Linked DNA regions of Homo sapiens: region 2 is linked to region 1. Evidence: promoter capture Hi-C in 16 types of primary human blood cells and fetal thymus (Javierre and others, 2016). All regions are on one chromosome and are shown on one strand. Each heading gives the region's core, a stretch centred on a gene start or on the middle of the fragment in contact. The rest is flanking DNA. Distances are from core to core; before and after follow the strand shown.

Region 1 (3,632 bases), core at 729-3,228:
TGTCGACAATCCATGTGCATGTGGTATATGTCACTGGGTGCTGAAAGCTTGTGTTCACAAAATGCACGTCTGGGGGCTTAAGGGCCATGTCCAAGTGATGCTGTAACTGATTGCTGAGGGCCTGTGGTCACGTTATTGTATGTATGGGTGTTGAAGGTCCATGTCCACATGATGTGTGAATGGCTCTGATGGCTTGTGGTCAAGTTATGCCATGTGTCTACATGCTGAGGACCTGTGGTCACATAATACTGTGTCTAGGAGCTGAGGTCCTATGTCTAAATGATATTGTATGCCTGGGTGCTAAGGGCCTCTTACCATGTGCTGTTTCATATGAGGGCTAAGGGTCTGTATCCACATAATTCTATTAGGATGTTCGACTCATGTTCCTAACATGTTACATGTATGTGTATGTGTCTACTCTCCCCTTTCCTTCATTTAACTCCTTTTTCTCTATACCTAGACACTCCCTCTCTTGATCTTTCAGGGGCTCCAGCCCCCCTCCCTCCAATGCAAGGCACTCCAGCCAGGATTGGGGTCTCCTAGTATCTTAAGCAAAAATCTAGGTTTACAGAGCCTTGTATGGCTCAAGCACCCTTTCTGGGCAGTTTCTCTGCTGTGTGCCATTCCCCTCCCTCTTCAAGGTCTCTGAGTCAGTTCATCTTCTACGTGCCCCTCCCCTCCTCCTTTCACCATCTCTGGTCCAATTTTTTTGCTGTGTGCCCCTTTACTACCCTCCCCCTTTTTATCATCTGTGATCCTTTTTTTAATGCTATGTTCCTCCTCTTCCCCCTTTCCCATCTGTGGTCCAGTTTTTATGTCCGCCCCCCCTCCACCACCCTTCATCATCTCCAGTCCAGCTTCTCTGCTGTTTTGCCCTCCTCCTTCCATCCCTCTTCCACCCAGTCTAGTCCGTCTTCCGATAGGGGGATCATGCCCACCTCTGGCTCTCCTCCACCCGCTTTACCTTTTCTGTCCCTCCCCCACCTTCCCCTTTCCTGTCACGGGCTTCTGACCTACGGAGTATCGATTAGAAGGATACTGCTTTGACCCAGAAGCCTGGGATATGCTGGATGATGAGGTCTCTGCGCTCCAGGAAGGGTCTTCGCATCTGGATGAACTTGCGCTTGAGACGCAGGAAGGCTTTGCCTGCCTTGATGTTCACTGCCTCCAGATCCAGCTGAATATCCTCCAGTGCCTGCAGGATGCTCTCCATCCTCTCGGCATTTCTCTCTCTGCTTTCCCTCTTCACCTTCCTCTGCTTCCTCCTCCGCCGCCGCCGCCGCCTCCTGCTGCTCCTCATACTCTCCCGCTCATCCTCATCCTCATCCTCCACTATGATGATCGCCTCTTCCTTGCTCTTCGGGTCAACTAACCTCTGGGGCGCCCACCCCACTGCGCTACAGGTTTCTAGGGCCCCCTCTCCACCAAAACTGCTCGACTGTACAACCTGAAAATCGATTTCCAGGCTCCCCCCCGAGGCCTCAGGAGTGGGGAGTGCTTCCAGGCTCTCCGTGGGCGGGGGCGCCTCCCCATACCCCGACTCGATGGTAGAATCCCAGCCGGGACACTCAGCACCGAGCGTGAAGTATGCGCGGATCCCCCCCTCCTCGAGAATGACATAGGGAGGCGGCGGGGGCAGCGCGGGGCCCAGTCCCACCCCCCTCATATCGGCCAGCACCTGTGCCGCCTCCGTTTCCTCCTGGAGCCTCGGGCGCTGCTGGGGTGGAGGCAGCGGCAGTCGGAGGAGCGGCGGCGGCGGCGGCGGCGGGGGCGGGTCGCGCTGTGGAGACTCGGAGCTGCTCAGGCGGCGGGTCTTGGCCGGAGGCCCCTCATCTGGGCGGTCCATGGCGACCGCGTTCGTACAGCTCAGGGGACTCGCACTCGCCCCTTCGCTTTTAGCCGCGTCGCTGCCGCTAGTCGCACCGGTAAGCAGAGCTGAGGAGACTCACGCAACCAGCTCTCCTCACCACCTCGCTCTGGCGTTCCCTCCCACAGCGCCCGCTCTACTCCCTCCGCGCCAATCGCCGAAGCCCCGCCCACTCCTGACGCAGGGGTCCGCTCGGCCTGGCCATTGGCTGCCGGCCGCCGCGGCGGCGATCGCGCTCCCGCGACCCCTGCCCGCTCTCACGCAATCCGCTTGCCAACACCACACATCATCAGTTTCCGATTGGCTCCCCTCGGGCCCGCCAATCAACGGGCTGACTCCCTCAGCGACGGGAGGGAAACTGCAGGGCGATTGGCTGCGAGGAAAGCTGGGGAAGAAGCCCCTCTCCCTCACCCTCTCAGCGTTTTATCCAATGGGAAAAGTACCAGTGGTTCTGAAGACCAAAAAACGAGACGAAAAACAAACGCAGGCGCTGAGCAGGATGTGCTCACATGAAATTGGAAGAGCCTCGTTATCGTTCCCCCCGCCCCCCTCCCCTCAGCAACTACGCACTTTTAAAATCTGCCCCTTCCCCCATTTCCTTCAGCTCCTTCCCCCACCCCCGCTTCTGCCCCTTCCCCCATCCCGGGTCCTGCCCCTTCCCCCATCCCAGCTCCTGCCCCTTCTCCCACCCCCGCTTCTGCCCCTTCTCCCATCCCCCACTGCTGCCCCTTTTTCCATCCCCGCTTCTGCCCCTTCCTCCACTCCCCGTTTCTGTCCCTTCCCCCACCCCCCGTTTCTGCCCCTTCCCCCATCCCCCGCTTCGGCCCCTTCCCCCACCCCACCCCCGCTTCTGCCCCTTCACCCCCCGCTTCTGCCCCTTCCTCCCCCGCTTCTGCCCCTTCCCTCACCCCCCCTTCTGCCCCTTCCCGCATTCCCTGCTTCTGACCCCCATCCCCCAACTGTCTCTTCCCTCACCCCCACTTCTGCCCCTTCCCCTATCCCCCAACTTCTGCCCCTTCCTTCACCCCCCAACCCCACTTCTGCCCCTTCCCTCACCCTCCCGCCCTCCGCTTCTGCCCTTCCCCTATCCCCCAACTTCTGCCCCTTCCCTCACACAACCCCTGCCCCCCGCCCCCCCGCTTCTGCCTCTTTTCCTACCTTCCACTTCTGCCCCTTCCCCCACCCCCCACGTTTGCCCCCTGGGTGAACTCTGCTGTAGCTCCTCGGGGGCTCGGGCTGCCCTACCGCCTGCGCCTGCAATTTAGGCACCCAGGGTGTTTGGTTTGGGGGCCAGGTTTTGACGTGGCGTTTTCCATCTCCGCAAAATGGCTCTACAAATAATAATCACACACACAAAAAAGTAACTTCCTCTGCGTCATAAAAATGATTGTGATTCAGCTCATCTGCTAGAATTTTCTAGCACTTTCTGTCTCTTCATTTCTCCCCCTTTCCATCCTTTCCTCTCCCTTTCCCCAGTGTATGCTGTATTTTAAGATTTTTCTTTTTAAACCAGAGATGGATGGTCTTTTGTGAGGCATGGTGGTGGAGGGCTGGCTTTGGTGCTGGGATTCACATCATGGGTGTGCCCCTCATTTTGTAACCTTAACCAAATCACTGCCCCTCTCTGAGCTTCAGTTTTCTCTCCCCTAAATTAGGCATCCCTCAAGAGAGGTGTAGGTAACTGCCCATTGCAGCCTTGTCGCGGAGCAGAGAGGAGACCTAGGGATCCATCATCAGGGGAGTGGATAAGAAAAATGTGATATAT
Region 2 (3,693 bases), core at 109-2,608, 5.4 Mb after region 1:
TTGATCCCAGGAGGTCAAGGCTGCAGTAAGCGGAGATAGCACCACTGCACTCTAGCCTGGGCAACAGAGGGAGACCCTGTCTCTAAAAACGAGAAAAGAAAAGAAAAGGAATGACAACTTTTAACATTAAAGCCTTAAAAAATTTCAGAACATACTAGAATGGGATATGACTTATTCTTTCAGTTGGTTATAGAAAAATAAAACAAAAAAATTATTCCTGTTACGTAATGTAAGGTAACTAAGAAATAAGTAGTGCAGTAAGCTTAAAGTGATGTCTATTTATGTAAGTGTGAATATATTTTAAACACCATCTGACTATGTTTGTCAAGTTACACCAATGGATTAACCACAGATGTCCATGGTAAGGATGCAATATTTCATCTGCTATGAGGGATATTGTATTAGTCCATTTTCACGCTGCTATAAAGAACTGCCTGAGACTGGGTGATTTATAAAGGAAAGAGGTTTAAATAACTCACAGCTCAGCATGGCTGGGAAGGCCTCAGAAAACTTGCAATTATGGCAGAAGGCAAAGGGGAAGCAAGGCACTGTCTTCACGAGGCGGCAGGAAGGAGAAGTGCCAAGTGAAAGGGGAAGATCCCCTTATAAAACCATCAGATCTCGTGAGAACTCACTCACTATCATGAAAACAGCATGGAGGAAACTGCCTCCATGATTCAATTCAATTACCTCCACCTGGTCTCTCCCTTGACACGTGGGGATTATGGGGATTACAATTCAAGATAAGATTTGGGTGGGGAACACAAAGCCTAATTCTAAGAATTAAAGAAAGAGGAAAGAAACATGAAAGGTGGCTCAACAGTCAAGGACAGGTTTATTTTAGAGAAAACAAACCTGACAGGGGATTCTGGCCAAGTTAGATCAGAGCCCACTCTCTTACAGACTAAGAGTTTTTAAAGATTTAGGGTGGGAGAGTTTATCAGAGGCTTGGACTGCTTCTGTGTCTCTTCATTTTGCTTATCTGGGAGGGAGAGTTTTGTGTCTGTTCCCATACATCTTCCTGCAGCTGCAGGCATACCCCCCCAGTCTACTTTTAGCTTCCCTATCTTAGTGCACCTGAAGGGAAAGGAATGTGCTTAGTAAGGCCCACTGTTTCACTGGGGTCCATTGTATGAGGGTGAAGTTCGGCAGTTACCCAGGAGACTTCCCCCCCGCCTCCCTCTGTGCCTGAGCTGTCTTATCTGTGTTTTACTGTCTGCTCTTTTCTGGCTGCTTGTAGTTAGAAAAGAAGTGATTTCCTTGAAATGCATGAGGCTAGAAAGGGAGCTTGAACTTAGAGTGGCGGTGTTTGTCCAAGATGACGGTGCTCCTGCTCTGTCATTAACCATATCAGATATTAAAGAAGAAACACATTTTTTTCTAGAAGTGAGGAAAGAATATTAAACAAAAGTGATAGGCAAAAAAGACAGAGAACGTCATCACTGAAATAAGGGCACCATTAATAGGGAGAGCAATAATAGTACTCACTTATTGCTGCTTCAAACCATTATCTTCTATTGTTGGGAATAATGCAATAACCATTCTTATGTGTCACAATCATCACATATATACAAATACACATGTGAAAATACAGATACTGCATGGTGACTAAGCATGTTTGGAATAAATCAAGAGTCTAAGTCACGACATACATAAATCATTTATATCTAAACTGCTAATTCAAGACAGGCAGCGTGGTGTAATGGTTAAGAACATGAATGCTGGAGCCAGATATGTATTCAAATCCTGCCCCTTAATGGTTTCTCAGATATGGCACAAAAAGTACACATAAAGAACCCTTACACTTTGCTAAAACAAAATAAATAAATAACCCAACTAAAAAATGGGCAAAGGCTGGGAGCAGTGGCTCACGCCTGTAATCCCAGCACTTTGGGAGGCTGAAGCGGGCGGATCACCTGAGGTCAGGAGTTTGAAACCAGCCTGGCCAATATGGCAAAACCCCATCTCTACTAAAAATACAAAAATTGCCCAGGCGTGGTGGTGCATGCCTGTAATCCTAGCTACTTGGGAGGCTGAGGCAGGAGAATGGCTTGAACCAGGGAGGCGGAGGTTGCAGTAAGCCGAGATTGCGCCACTGCACTCCAGCCTGAGCAACAGAGCAAGACTCCGTCTTAAAAAATAAACAAACAAATAAATAAATAAATATACTGCTAATTCATACTGGTACACATTTTTGTGAAACATACTAACACTTTTTAAGTGATGCAATCAAAACTCTAGTTACAAGGAAGGGAGAGACATCTGGAAAGGTTGACTAAGGAGCTTGGCAATCCTCTCCACAAAACGCCATGACAAAAGTGGACAAAATTGCCAAAAACAACCAGTTAAAGACTCTGGAAATTTACCAAGGTAATATAACAAATTGGGAAGTGGTTATTCAAGAAAAACTACTGAGGCTTGGAAGCAGAGCAAGATGGCCAAATAGAAGCTTCCACTGATTGTCCCCCGACAGGAACACCAAATTGAACAACTACACACACAGAAAACCACCTTCATAAGAACCAAAAAGCAGGTAAGCAGTCACAGTACTTGGTTTTAATATTATTTTAAGGAAAGAGGCACTAAAGAAGGTAGGAAAGACAGTCTTGAATCACCTACACTACCCTTCCCTCACCATCTGGCAGTGGCCATGTGGTGCAGAGAGAGAATCTGTGTGCTTGAGGAAGGGAGAACACAGTGAATGTGGGACTTTGCATTGGAACTCAGTGCTGCCGTGTCACAGCGAAAAGCAACATGGGGCAGAACTCAGCTGGCGTCTATGGAGGGAGCATTTAGATGAGCCCTAACCAGATGACATCCATCCCAGCAATCAAAACCTGAGTTCCAGCAAGCTCTGCCATCACTGGCTAAAATACTCTGAGGTTCCTATTTCTCCACAGCCTCACCAGCATCTATTGTTTCTTGACTTTTTAGTAATCACCATTCTGACTGGCGTGAGATGGCATCTCATTATGGTTTTGATTTGCATTTCTCTAATGATCATTGATATGGAGCTTTTTTTCATATTTTTGTTGGCCACGTAAATGTCTTCTTTTGAGAAGTGTCTGTTCATATCCTTTGCCCACTTTTTGATGGGGTTATTTGTTTTTTCTTGTAAATTTGTTTAAGTTCCTTGTAAATTCTGGATATTAGACCATTGTCACGTGGGTGGATTGCAAAAATTTTCTCCCATTCTGTAGGTTACCTGTTCACTCTGATGATAGTTTCTTTTGCTGTGCAGAAGCTCTTTAGTTTAATTAGATCCCATTTCTTTGCTTTTGTTGCCATTGCTTTTGGTGTTTTAGTCATGAAGTCTTTGCCCATGCCTATGTCCTGAATGGTATTGCCTAGGTTTTCTTCTAGGGTTTTTATGGTTTGGGGTTTTACATTTAAGTCTTTAATCCATCTTGAGTTAATTTTTGTATAAAGTGTAAGGAAGAGGCCTAGTTTCAGTTTTCTACATATGGCTAGGCAGTTTTCCCAGCACCATTTATCAAATAGGAGATCCTTTCCCCATTGCTTGTTTTTGTCAGGTTTGTCAAAGATCAGATGGTTGTAGATGTGTGGTTTTATTTTACACTGTTGGTGGGAATATAAATTAGTTCAACCATTGTGGAAGACAGTATGGTGATTCCTCAAGGATCTAGAACAAGAAATACCATTTGACCCAGCAGTCTCATTACTGGGTATATA

The links. Contacts are between HindIII fragments. The CHiCAGO score rates a contact against its expected background, and 5 or more counts as called.
Region 2: a fragment that was not itself captured here is called in contact with the fragment with the promoter of TSPYL2 in region 1 in 1 of 17 cell types (monocytes); the score reaches 5.9 in monocytes.

What each region holds. Positions count from the first base shown.
Region 1 is chrX:53,080,713-53,084,344 of GRCh38, reverse strand. TSPYL2 (TSPY like 2) reads right to left here and starts at 1,978. Exons shown (of 7, transcript NM_022117.4): 1 at 1,040-1,978. The coding sequence starts at 1,846. RefSeq lists silencers at 1,604-1,653, 1,684-1,733, 2,004-2,113. The HindIII fragment of the contact is 18,116 bases long and covers 50-3,632 here.
Region 2 is chrX:47,673,564-47,677,256 of GRCh38, reverse strand. No RefSeq gene overlaps it. Among named protein-coding and RNA genes, the nearest start is that of UXT, 16 kb to the right of the region's middle. The HindIII fragment of the contact is 2,187 bases long and covers 265-2,451 here.